Regions from separate parts of the Homo sapiens genome. Here region 1 is linked to region 2. The links are contacts of gene promoters, found by promoter capture Hi-C in human tissues and cell types (Jung and others, 2019). All regions are on one chromosome and are shown on one strand. Each heading gives the region's core, a stretch centred on a gene start or on the middle of the fragment in contact. The rest is flanking DNA. Distances are from core to core; before and after follow the strand shown. Region 1 has its middle 18 kb from the start of COX4I2. Region 2 holds the start of ID1 (inhibitor of DNA binding 1).

The links. The method cuts DNA at HindIII sites, captures the fragments that hold promoters and counts their contacts. A contact is called where the count stands out against the background at its distance.
Region 1: a fragment that was not itself captured here is called in contact with the fragment with the promoter of ID1 in region 2 in 5 of the 25 tissues and cell types used here (IMR-90 fibroblasts, lymphoblastoid cells, mesenchymal stem cells and 2 more).

What each region holds. Positions count from the first base shown.
Region 1 is chr20:31,652,300-31,658,946 of GRCh38, forward strand. No RefSeq gene overlaps it. Among named protein-coding and RNA genes, the nearest start is that of COX4I2, 18 kb to the left of the region's middle. The HindIII fragment of the contact is 5,343 bases long and covers 1,067-6,409 here.
Region 2 is chr20:31,602,847-31,608,894 of GRCh38, forward strand. ID1 (inhibitor of DNA binding 1) reads left to right here and starts at 2,443. Exons shown (of 2, transcript NM_002165.4): 1 at 2,443-2,967; 2 at 3,207-3,664. The coding sequence starts at 2,542. The coding sequence ends at 3,248. LOC105372588 (a long non-coding RNA gene) reads right to left here and starts at 2,349. Exons shown (of 2, transcript XR_936669.2): 1 at 2,257-2,349; 2 at 1,845-2,099. It overlaps MIR3193 (microRNA 3193), which reads left to right and starts at 4,340; the gene lies at 4,340-4,394. RefSeq lists silencers at 20-314, 4,200-4,494, enhancers at 1,067-1,905, 1,641-1,820, 2,210-2,880, 2,881-3,550, 3,597-4,175 and 1 more and a cis regulatory region at 5,556-6,048. The HindIII fragment of the contact is 38,824 bases long and covers 1-6,048 here.

The DNA.
Region 1 (6,647 bases), core at 2,488-4,987, 51 kb after region 2:
TCCCTAGCTGGTCAGCCTTCTTTCCACTTTTCAGAGTTTCCTTTTCTTTTTCTTTCTTTCTTTTTTTTTTGAGATGGAGTCTCACTCTGTGGCCCAGGCTGGAGTGCAATGGCATGATCTCAGCTCACTGCAACCTCTACCTCCTGGGTTCAAGCAGTTCTCATGCCTCAGCCTCCTTAGCAGCTGGGATCACAGGCATGAGCCACCATGCCTGGCTATTTTTTGTATTTTTGGTAGATACAGGGTTTTGTCATGTTGGGCAGAATGGTCTCAAACTCCTGGCCTCAAGTGATCCATCTGCCTCAGCCTCCCAAAGTGCTGGGATGACAGGCATAAGCCACCGCGCCCAGCCTGAGTTTTCTTATTCTTATTTTATATACAGTGTCAAAGGTTCTTAGTTTTACTTAGGAGGAGAAATAGGGAAAAGTACATCTGCTCCATCTTCCTGGATGTGGAAGTCCAGTGGTTCTTCCTAATATATATTAAAATATCTTTTGATATATAATCTCTCTCTCTCTCCCTACCCCTCCCTCCCCTTCCATTTCATTTGTTGAAAAAAATTGAGTCATTTGTCCTGAGGATTTCCCCCAGTCTGTATTTTGGTAATTGCAATCCCATGTGTCTCTTATTATGCCCCTCTGTCCCCGTTGTTTTCTGTAAATGGTGATTACATTTAGAAGCTTAGACTCACGCTTGATTTTTTTGGCAAGAATATTTTATGGGTGTGCTGTGTTCTCTTGGCAGGCAGCACATGACGCCTGGTTGTCTTTGTGTAGCATTAGCAGCTTTCATTGGTCATTGTGTAGATTCATTAACTTATTAGGAGTACAGATGGCTTTCAAATACATGAAAAGATGCCAACCTCAATTAGATTTTTAAAAATGAAATTTTAAAGTATGAGTACTATTTTTTCATCTACCAGATTGACAAGGATCAGAGTGTTAACACGAATGTTGGCAAGAGTGCAGAGGACAGGCGATTTCATAGGCTGCCTGATTGGACTGTATCCATCAAAATGACTAATGTATACACCCTTTGGCCCAGCAATTCTACTTTTAGGGATGTACCCTGTGGATACATGTGCATATATGCAAAATGATGGATTGCAGTATTGTTTGGATTAGCAGGAGTTAAAGCCTGGGCAACATAGTGAGACCTTGTCTCTACTACAAATAAAAAAATATTAGCCGGGCATGGTGGTGCATGCCTGTGGTCCCAGCTACTTGGGAGGCTGAGGTGGGAGGATCCTCAAATTTGGGAAGTCAAGGCTGCAGTAAGTCACGATCATGTCACTGCGCTCCAGCCTGGGCAATAGAACAGACCCTGTCTCCAAAAACAAAAACAGTAACAACAGAAGTTGAGAACTACCAAATTGTTCCACCTGGAGTGCTACAAATTATCACAACTTGTGGCAGACGCTGTGGGCAATGTGCCTGCAGGATGCTCTCTGAAGCTTTGGTGGACAGTTCTCATTAAAGGGAACAGCCACCTGTGTGTTTTTGACCAAGCATGGGGCAGGCAGGAAATGCCAAACGTCAAGGAGAAAGTCCTGAAGCAGCCCTCCTCAGCCAATGAGGGATGAGTTGGTGGATAAACACCTTGGTGTTCTTTTCCCTCAGTGATAGAATTTTGAGCAGTGTTCCACGGGTTTTTCAAAGGATGCCCTGGTGGAGGAGCCCCATTGCCTGGAGTGGCAGCTTACTCATTATTACACCCTATATTGGCTGCCTGTCCTTCCTTGTGTCACTTCCCCACTTAAATCATTTGCCCCTGAATCTTTATTCTAGGCTTTGCTTTTGGGGGAAATCTACACTAAGGCAGAGCTTGGTGGTGGTTTGGCAGCACAGTCTGATACAATTTATAGTAGTTACTATAAAAAATAGTACTTACAGCCGGGCACGGTGGCTCACACCTGTAATCCCAGCACTTTGGGAGGCCAAGGTGGGCGGATCACAAGGTCAGGAGATCGAGACCATCCTGGCTAACACGGTTAAACCCCGTCTCTACTAAAAAATACAAAAAAATTAGCCGGGCAAGGTGGCGGGCACCTGTAGTCCCAGCTCTGTGGGAGGCTGAGGCAGGAGAATGGCATGAATCCGGGAGGCGGAGCTTGCAGTGAGCCGAGATGGCACCACTGCACTCCAGCCTGAACGACAGAGAGACTCCGTCTCAAAAAAAAAAAAAAAAAAAAATAGTACTTACAGTGCCAGATACCATCCTTAAGCACTTTACGAGCATTAAACCTGTGTAACTACCTCATGAAGTAGGTATGATTAGCACCCCTATTTTTTAGGCAAAAAACTCAGGAACAGAGAGGTTACGTCACTTGTCCAAGGGCACCTGCCTCCCCTGGGCAGTCTCGTTTCAGGGTCCTGCTCCAAACCATTACACTATCCTTTCTCTGGTCCCCTGCTGCTCCACCAGCATGAGCTGAGCTTGGCCACGGTTGGCCTCTTCGTTTCTGGACCTCTACTGTAGTGGTCAGCTGTGGAGAATGGCCATCCACCTACCCTCTACAGTTTGTTTTCCAGGTGCCCAGAGAGCTTGGCACAAAGTTCAGGTAAGATTGATATACCCTTTTGGGGACAGCCAAACAGCTGCGGAGGGATGTTCCACTTCATAAATGGTTTGTAAACTACAGCCCTATCATTATTTTAATTTATTATTATTATTTTTACAGTGCAATCATAGCAGTTATTTCTGGGGGAGGTTTGTTTGTTTTTTAAGTTTTTTTTTTTGTAGGGATGGAGTCTTGGTATGTTGCCCAGGCTGGTCTCAAACTCCTGGGCTGAAGCAATCCTCCTGCGTCAGTCTCCCAAAGTGGGATTATAGGCATAAGCCACCACGTCCAGCTTTTTGTTTGTTTGTTTGTTTCGAGATGGAGTTTTTGCTCTTGTTGCCCAGGCTGGAGTGCAATGGTGTGATCTTGGCTCACTGCAACCTCCACCTCCTGGGTTCAAGTGATTCTCCTGCCTCAGCCTCCTGAGTAGCTGGGACTACAGGCACCTGCCACCACGCCCAGCTAATTTTTGTATTTTTACCAGAGACGGGGTTTCACCATGTTGGCCAGGCTGGTCTGGAACTCCTCACCTCAGGTGATCCGCCCACCTTGGCCTCCCAAAGTGCTGGGATTACAGGCATGAGCCACCATGCCTGGCTTGTTTTTTACATCAGTGCAATTAGAGCCTGACGTGGGCACTTGTTGACGTGGGTACTGGTCATTTCCTATTCAGCAACAAATTTACAAACCATCTCGTTGGCCAGGCCACTATGTTATGTTTATATTATTTTCTATTTCATATTCAGAAAAACTTTTTCTTGCTTTATGTCCACATTCTTGGTATCTTAGTATTTTAAAAATGAGTTCCTCAAATTTTAACATTGACTTGTTAACAGTTCGTAATATGGCCATTTAAATTTCATTTAAGAACTTCAAGAATTCACAAGACTCTCTATAATGAAATTATTAAAACTAATTATTTATATGTGAATTTATTGAAATGAGATGGCTTAAATAATTCAGGAGAGAATACTCAACATGGTCAGAATTCTCATGTGAGTTTGTGCATATTAATTAAAAATCAGGCCAGGCGCAGTGGCTCACGCCTGTAATACTAGCACTTGGTAGGCCAAGGCTGGCGAATCGCCTGAGGTCAGGAGTTCGAGACCAGCCTGGCCAACATGGTGAAACCCTGTCTCTAGTAAAAATACAAATTTAGCTGGGCATGGTGGCAGGCACCTGTAGTCCCAGCTACTCGGGAGGCTGAGGCAGGAGAATCACTTGAACCCAGGGGACAGAGGTTGCAGTGAGCCAGGATGCACCACTGCACTCTAGCCTGGGCGGCAGAGCGAGACTCTGTCTCAAAAAAAAAGAAAGAAAGAAATGAACATATATGATCTATATAAATGTAGGTCTTCTTTGATTTTTATTTATTTATTTTATTTTTTTCGAGATGGAGTTTTGCTCTTGTTGCCCAGGCTGGAGTGCAATGGTGTGATCTTTGCTCACTGCAACTTTTGCCTCCTGGGTTCAAGCGATCCTCCTGCCTCAGCCTCCCGAGTAGCTGGGATTACAGGCATGCACCACCACGCCTGGCTAATTTTGTGTTTTTAGTAGAGACGGGGTTTCTCCATGTTGGTCAGGCTGGTCTCGAACTCCTGACCTCAGGTGATTTGCCCACCTCTGCCTCCCAAAGTACTGGGATTACAGGCGTGAGCCACCGCACTTGGCTATGCCCAGCCATTTCTATTATTTTCTTTTTCTTTCTTTCCTTTTTTTTTTTTGAGACGGAGTTTTGCTATTGTTGCTCAGGCTGGAGTGCAATGGCGCAATCTCGGCTCACTGCAACCTCTGCCTCCTGGGTTCAAGTGATTCTCCTGCCTCAGCCTCCCGAGTAGCTGGGATTACAGATACCCACCACCATGCCCAGCTAATTTTTTTGTATTTTTAGTAGAGATGGGGTTTCACCATGTTGCCATGTTGGCCAGGCTGGTCTTGAACTCCTGACCTCGGGTGATCTGCCCGCCTTGGCTTCCCAAAGTGCTGGGATTACAGGCACGAGCCACCACGCATGGCCCATTTCTATTATTTTCTATATAGTAAGAAATAGTTCTTGTTATTTTTGCCTCATGACAAAGGCTATGATGGTAGAGATAGAAAAATAGAAAGCTGGGCATTATGTAATACATTATTTTATTGTACTTTGTGTGTGTGTGTGTGTTTTTTTTTTTTGTTTTTTGTTTTTTTTTGAGACAGCCTCTAGCTCTGTCACCCAGGCTGGGGTGCAATGGCGTGATCTTAGGTCACTGCAACTTCCACCTCCTGGGTTCAAGCGATTCTCCTGCCTCAGCCTCCAGAGTAGCTGGGATTACAGGTGCGCGCCACCACACCTAGCTAATTTTTTTTTGTATTTTTAGTAGAAATGGGATTTCACCATGTTGGCCAGGCTGGTCTCAAACTCCTGACCTCAAGTGATCTGCCCGCCTCAGCCTGTCAAAGTCTGGAATTACAGGCGAGAGCCACCGCGGCCAGTCGATTTTATTTTATTTTCTGAGTCAGGGTCTTGCTCTGTCATCCAGGCTGGAGTTCAGTGATGTGATCACAGCTCACTGCAGCCTCAACCTTCTGGTCTCAAGCGATTATCTCACCTCAGGCTCCCTATTAGCTGGGAATACAGGCACGTGCCACCATGCCCAGCTAATTTTTGTATTTTTTTGTAAAGACGGGGTTTTGCCATGTTGCCCAGGCTGGTCTGGAACTCCTGGGTTCAAACAATCTGCCCACCTCAGCCTCCCAAACTGCTGGAATTACAGGTGTGAGCCACCACACCTGGCCTATGTAATAAATTTGATCATGACATAAGTTGCTGGTTTTTCTGCGTGATTTGTCAATTTTTAAAAATTGCACAAGTGAACCAGGCACAGTGGTTCACATCTGTAATCCCTAAACTTTGGGGGGTTGAGGCAGGAGGATCATTTGAGCCCAGGAGTTCCAGACCAGCCTGGGCAACATAAGGAAACCCTGTCTCTATTTAAAAAAAAAAAACATTGCACAAGCAATACACAAAATTATTATCTTAAACTTCTATAGACCCAGAAGACTATAAAGAAGTGAAAGCTGGCTAAAAAGCTTTTTTTTTTTAAATTTAATAAATCATGAACAGGTGTTAGCTGGGCACCGTGGCTCATGCCTGTAACCCCAGCACTTTGGGAGGCCGAGGCAGGCAGATCACCGGAGGTCAGGAGTTCGAGACCAGCCTCGCTAACATAGCGAAACCCCGTTGCTACTAAAAATACAAAAATTAGCTGGACGTGGTGGCGGGCATCTGTAATCCCAGCTACTCAGGAGGCTGAGTCAGGAGAATCACTTGAACTTGGGACGTGGAGACTGTGGCGAGTCAAGATGGCACCACTGCACTCCAGCCTGGGCAACAGAGCGAGACTCCATCTCAAAAAAAAAGAAAAAAATGAACAGGTGTTGAATTTTACAAAATACTATTTTCATATCTCCTGAAATAATCATAAGCATTTTCTTTGTTAATTTTTCAATACAATAAATTACATAGATAAATTTCTTGGCTGGGTGCGGTGGCTCACGTCTGTAATTCCAGCACTTTGGGAGGCCAAGGCAGGCGGATCACTTGAGGTCAAGAGTCCAAGACCAGCCTGGCAAACATGGTGAAACCCTGTCTCTATTAAAAATACAAAAATTAGCCTGGCATGGTGGTGCATGCCTGTAATTCCAGCTACTTGGGAGGCTGAGGCAGGAGAATCACTTGAACTTTGGAGGCAGAGGTTGCAGTGAGCCAAGATGGCGCTACTGCACTCCAGCCTGGGCTACAGAGTGAGACTCCGTCTCAAAAAAAAAAAAGAAAGCAAAAAGAAAAAATTCCTATATGTAGTCAATCTTGTTTACCTGGAATAAACCCTACAGGTTGTGATATATTATTCTTTTAATATTATGTTGTTTGTTAATATTAGGTTTGGTTTATTAATATTATAACTTTGGCATACATGTTCATAAGTAATAGTGACCAATAATTCCCTTTCTTTTCCTTCCTTTCTTCCTTCTTTCCTTCTGTGTTTCCCTCACTCTCTCCCTTCTTTCCTTCCTTCCTCTCTCTTCCTTGGTGCTGTACAGCCTTGCC
Region 2 (6,048 bases), core at 1,193-3,692:
GAACTTCTGTGGGAAAACGGAACCTGCTGATAACTCAGTGAATTAATTGCTGCGGGGTAGTGCGGTGGAGCGGAGCAGGGAGGGACCATAATATCACCCTCCACTGGTGAGCACAGATTTTTACCCCTGCTAATGTTGTGTGGCTTTGGGTGACTAATCTGAGCTTCGGTTTCCCCACCTGTGGCATGTCCAGGACTCTGCAGTCAGACTGCCTGCTCTCAGCAGGAAGCGGTTGCATTACAACACTGTACCCTCCTTATAATAACACAACTATGGTTATGACTTAGGCGTCGTGTGGAGCCTCAGTTTCCTTTGTATAAAGAAACCAAAGAGCTCCTTTCTTTAGAGTTGTGAAAAAGACTACAGAAGTTGATCAAGCCGGGTGACAGAGTAAGACCCTGTATCATTATTATTTTATTTTGAAACAGAGTCCCACTCTGTCGCCCAGGCTGGAGTGCAGTGGCATAATCTCGGCTCACTACAACCTCCGCCTCCTGGGTTCCAGCGAGTCTCCTGCCTCAGCCTCCTGAGTAGCTGGGGTATTACAGGTGCGCGCCACCACACCTGGCTAATTTTTCATTTTTAGTAGAGACGGGATTTCACCATGTTGGTCAGGCTGGTCTCGAACTCCTGACCTCGTGATCTGCCCACCACGGCCTCCCAAAGTGCTGGGATTACAGGCGTGAGCCACTGCGCCCGGCCCCCTGTATCCTTTTTTTTTTTTTTTTTTTTGAGACGAGTCTCACTCTGTCGCCAGGCTTGAGTGCAGTGGTGCGATCTCGGCTCACTGCAACCTCCGCCTCCCAGGTTCAAGCAATTCTCCTGTCTCAGCCTCCCGAGTAGCTGGGATTACAGGCGAACGCTACCATGCCCGGCTAATTTTTGTATTTTTAGTAGAGATGGGGTTTCACCATATTGGTCAGGCTGGTCTCGAACTCCTGACCTCAGGCAATCCACCCGCCTCGGCCTTCCAAATTGTTGGGATTACAGGCGTGAGCCACCGCGCAGCCCTTCATTTTTTAAAATAAGAAATAAATGAAAAAAGATGATCAAGACAAACTCTTCATACAGTGCCCGCTGTACAAAGTAAGAAATTAATAATGGTCACGTTTGTGATTATTATTTAAACACCAAGCAGATATTAAATATTAGGGCTCAGAGAGGGCATGCGACCCGCCTGAATTCACTCAGCTGCAGAGCTGGAAAGAGAACTCAGGCCTTTTTCCCCACGCTGGAAGGGGTAGCTGGGGCGGAGAGGTGGGGGGAGCGGTGAAGAAACCCCAAGCGGCCCAAGCTGTGGGTCTGGGTTGGGAGACTCGCAGGTGTGGGGCGGGGAGGTAAGGTGACCCTTGCTCAGCGACCGCGCCCGCAAGAAACGCATTCCCAGGCCTCCCGCCCGGGGTCTGCAGGTGACGGGCTGGGGGGAGCACGGGAACTAGCTAGACCAGTTTGTCGTCTCCATGGCGACCGCCCGCGCGGCGCCAGCCTGACAGTCCGTCCGGGTTTTATGAATGGGTGACGTCACAGGCCTGGCGTCTAACGGTCTGAGCCGCTGGTTCAGACGCTGACACAGACCGGCCCGGGAAGGGAGGGGGGAGACTGTAGCTCCGCAGCTGCCGCGCCGTGGGAGGGAGACCCTGCTCTGAGGTCTTTGAGAAGAAAATTTAAAAAGCAGCCAAAAATGGGAAAAAACATTAAAAAATCACGAACTGTTGCAGGTTCAGGAAATTTTTGCAAGGAGCTGCAAATTCAAGGTGGAATCGAATGCAGCCTCACTCCACTGCGCTCTATCTAGTTCACTTCCCAGCCACCCAGCCCCAAACTTACTAGACTTTCCCGAATTAATTGCTCCCACCCGGGAGGGATCTGGGTAGGCCCTCCGGGTCTCAGGAACACGAACAGCAACATTATTTAGGAATTGAGAAAGCCCAGGGGAGCAGATGTAAAGGAGCGCCCGCTTTAAATTTCGGTCCTGATATTTGTAGATCAGGGTCCGAGAAGCATCTTCCAAGAGGGTCCGGAAACCCAGGCTCTCTGGGCTATCCAGAGCCAGCCGCTTCTCCGTTCGGGCCTCAATTTCTCTCATCTGTGAAATGGAGCTGGAGAAGTGAGAAAGTGAATATGGGAAAAACTGATTCCTGAGGTCTTTTCATTATAAGGCAATGCCTGCTTAGCTTCCTTGCCTCCTTCCAGAGGAGCCCAGTGCGGCCCTCGCCTCTACCCGCTGCCCTGCCCGGTGCCCTGCCACCGACCCACCCTTGCTGTTCTGAAACCCGGGTCGTCTTTCCACACTGCGAGCAGGCACTAGACGAGCAGGAGGCTGGACCTAGGAGCGCGGGTCACGCCCCCATGCCGCCCATTGGCTGCTTTTGAACGTTCTGAGCCCGCCCCTCCGGGGGCCGTGGCGTGTTTATAAAAGACAAGCTGTGGCTCCGCACTCTCATTCCACGTTCTTAACTGTTCCATTTTCCGTATCTGCTTCGGGCTTCCACCTCATTTTTTTCGCTTTGCCCATTCTGTTTCAGCCAGTCGCCAAGAATCATGAAAGTCGCCAGTGGCAGCACCGCCACCGCCGCCGCGGGCCCCAGCTGCGCGCTGAAGGCCGGCAAGACAGCGAGCGGTGCGGGCGAGGTGGTGCGCTGTCTGTCTGAGCAGAGCGTGGCCATCTCGCGCTGCGCCGGGGGCGCCGGGGCGCGCCTGCCTGCCCTGCTGGACGAGCAGCAGGTAAACGTGCTGCTCTACGACATGAACGGCTGTTACTCACGCCTCAAGGAGCTGGTGCCCACCCTGCCCCAGAACCGCAAGGTGAGCAAGGTGGAGATTCTCCAGCACGTCATCGACTACATCAGGGACCTTCAGTTGGAGCTGAACTCGGAATCCGAAGTTGGAACCCCCGGGGGCCGAGGGCTGCCGGTCCGGGCTCCGCTCAGCACCCTCAACGGCGAGATCAGCGCCCTGACGGCCGAGGTGAGATCCAGATCCGACCACTAGATCATCCTTATACCGACGGGGAAACGGAGGCCAGAGAGGGCGTGGGCGCTTGCACCACTTCCGTCCCATCCTTGCGGGTACCTGGCTATGCGGGGGTGCCTAAGGAGCCTGGAAAAAGCGCTCCCCCGTCGTGCTTCCTGGGGAAGGGGGCGTTCGCTGCGCTCGGAGCGGCGTCCCTTCCAACCCGCCGGTCTCATTTCTTCTCGTTTTCACAGGCGGCATGCGTTCCTGCGGACGATCGCATCTTGTGTCGCTGAAGCGCCTCCCCCAGGGACCGGCGGACCCCAGCCATCCAGGGGGCAAGAGGAATTACGTGCTCTGTGGGTCTCCCCCAACGCGCCTCGCCGGATCTGAGGGAGAACAAGACCGATCGGCGGCCACTGCGCCCTTAACTGCATCCAGCCTGGGGCTGAGGCTGAGGCACTGGCGAGGAGAGGGCGCTCCTCTCTGCACACCTACTAGTCACCAGAGACTTTAGGGGGTGGGATTCCACTCGTGTGTTTCTATTTTTTGAAAAGCAGACATTTTAAAAAATGGTCACGTTTGGTGCTTCTCAGATTTCTGAGGAAATTGCTTTGTATTGTATATTACAATGATCACCGACTGAAAATATTGTTTTACAATAGTTCTGTGGGGCTGTTTTTTTGTTATTAAACAAATAATTTAGATGGTGGTAAAGTTGTAGTGACTTCTTGGGTTGAGGGGAGGGGCCTGGGCTGGGGGTTGACCCCTGACCCTCTTCACAGCTGGTTCTGGGAGGAGAATTGGAGGGCTACATCTGGATTGTTGCTCTTACCGGCCTGAATGAGTGTTTCCGGTGTCTTTAAAGTCTATTCTTCCCCCACCATCCCTGCCCATTTCCCTGCTCCCCAGTGTTATAAAACTAAATACTCCAGACCTCTGGGGTTTCTCACAGTGATCATTGGGCCATCTAGATCACCTGGGGAGGTTGTTAAAATGCAGATGAACCTGCCAGGGCCCCCTCTGTATTGGGAGTATTGAGCAAGCCATTTAAGTTGGAGAACCTGGCCGCTGGACCACCCACTTCCTTGCCAAGATGTGGATAAAGTGAGACCCAGTGGAAAGGGACTTGCTTAGGGCCATAGCTTGTGAGAGGCAGTGATTCTATCACCCCATTCCCCAGTTGGAGGTGCCTCCCCCAACAGCCTACCTCTGGGTTCCAGCAGGCAGCCCTGGGGCTCCTGGCTCATCCAAGTGGGTGAGCAAGTTGGCAGGGCCAGGCTGGGCACAGCTGCCGAGACACCTGCTCTGGGTCCAGACTCGGCCTCCTCACTCTGGCCTGGCTCTGTCGGCAGTTCAAACAAATCTCCCCCACCAACCCCGGGGCTCCTGCGTAGGATCTGAGGAGTGGACGAGTCTCATTACCCAGCTCCTGAGCAGGAAAAATATGTCATTGGCAAGGGTCTAAGAATCTTCCTGGACATGTATGTGGATTTCTACTCAGGGGAGCATGTATGAGTGTCTACGCCTGTGTATGTAACAGGAGTAAGCTGATCTTCCCCCACTACTCCCACAGTGGGGATGGGCCAACTGTTCACATATAGGCTTGGGGGAGGGGGTGTAAGTAGGAGTATGCTTGGGGGTGTGTGCAGAAGGGCAAATGAGAGCACATGTGTTCTGCAGATAAGTGTGGAACCTCCAGCTGTTTGGGCTTGTGTGTTCTGCCTAAATGCATTGTAGGCATCTCTGCATGGGTCTGGCATGATGGATGGGTTTGTGTGTCTGGGGGCCACAGAACCACACTGTGGGTTTCTGTGTGTATAACTGTTCTATAGATTGGTTGGCATTCCTGGGCCTCTGCGGGTCTGGAGTGAAGGTGGGGACAGCTGTGTTTGGGCAAACCCTTCCTCAAAAGTTCACGTGGCAACTCCCTGGGCTATCGTTAGGTCCTGGGGGCACCAACCCTCAAGGATTGCTGCCAGGTAAACCCCCCTGTATTACATATGGAGAAACTGAGTCCCAGGAATGACAAAGAACTTGTCCCAGACAGGTAAGGGCTATTAATATATTTTGTCAATAAACAATAGAATAAAATCAATAGCCCTTAGCACCAGAAGCCTGGCTCTGCTCAACTGAACCCTTTACAAAAACGATTTCATGGATCCCTGTGGGGCTAAAGGCAAGACTGTGATCCCAGTTTTACAGCAGAAGGAACAAGCTCAGAGAGGGGATGAACAAAAAATCAAATGAAAGATTATGATTTGAGCACTAACATTAAGCCAGGTACACCCCCTCCACAGTTTATGGATTTTATCGAAGAACCCAGTACTTGCAGGCGAATTATGTTCTTTGCTACCTCCTCCCCACCGGCTGCTGTATTACAGTACTAACCTCACGGAATGTAGTACAGAATAAATGAAATAAAGTAAGTGTGTAAAACGTTTAGCACAGTGCTTGGCACAGAATGTTTCATAGTTATAAATTATTATTGTCGCCTGTGAGTCCTTGGAGTGTCCTCGGAGGCACACGTGTGCACGCACGCACTCTCACGTGTGGGCCCCCGCCTGCAAGCCCACCCACGGGGTCTGAGCGGGTTCCCCCTCGCGTACTCCGACATGCAGGGCCTTTTTCCAGGGGAGGAAGGGGCTGCGGCGGGGGCCTGGGCCACCTCCCCCGCCATTCAGGCACACTCTGGATTCCACGTTTCCCTCTGTTCCCCTTTGGCCCAGACCCAGCCCATCTGGAGGCCGGCTCCGCGGCGGCCTGGGAGCGTTTCCATCAGCTGGGCCCGAGGAATGCGGAGCTATTTAACCTGAGCATCCCCAGGTGTACGGAGGCGCCTGGCTGTCTGGGGCCCGCAGCCTTTGGCACAGCCGCGCTAGACAAACAGCGCGCCGCCCCCGCCCTGCCCCTCCGCCCCCAGCTGCAGCCGGGCCTGGGAACCGGCGGGCGCCGGCGGCTTGCATAAGAGGCTCCGGGCCTCGCAGAGGGAGGGGGGACAGAGGCCACCGGTGTGTGTGCATGTAACACACAAAACCCTGCTCCTTTGGAAATCATTAACTCCTTAACCCCTCCTGGACAGGACGAAGCCAGGAG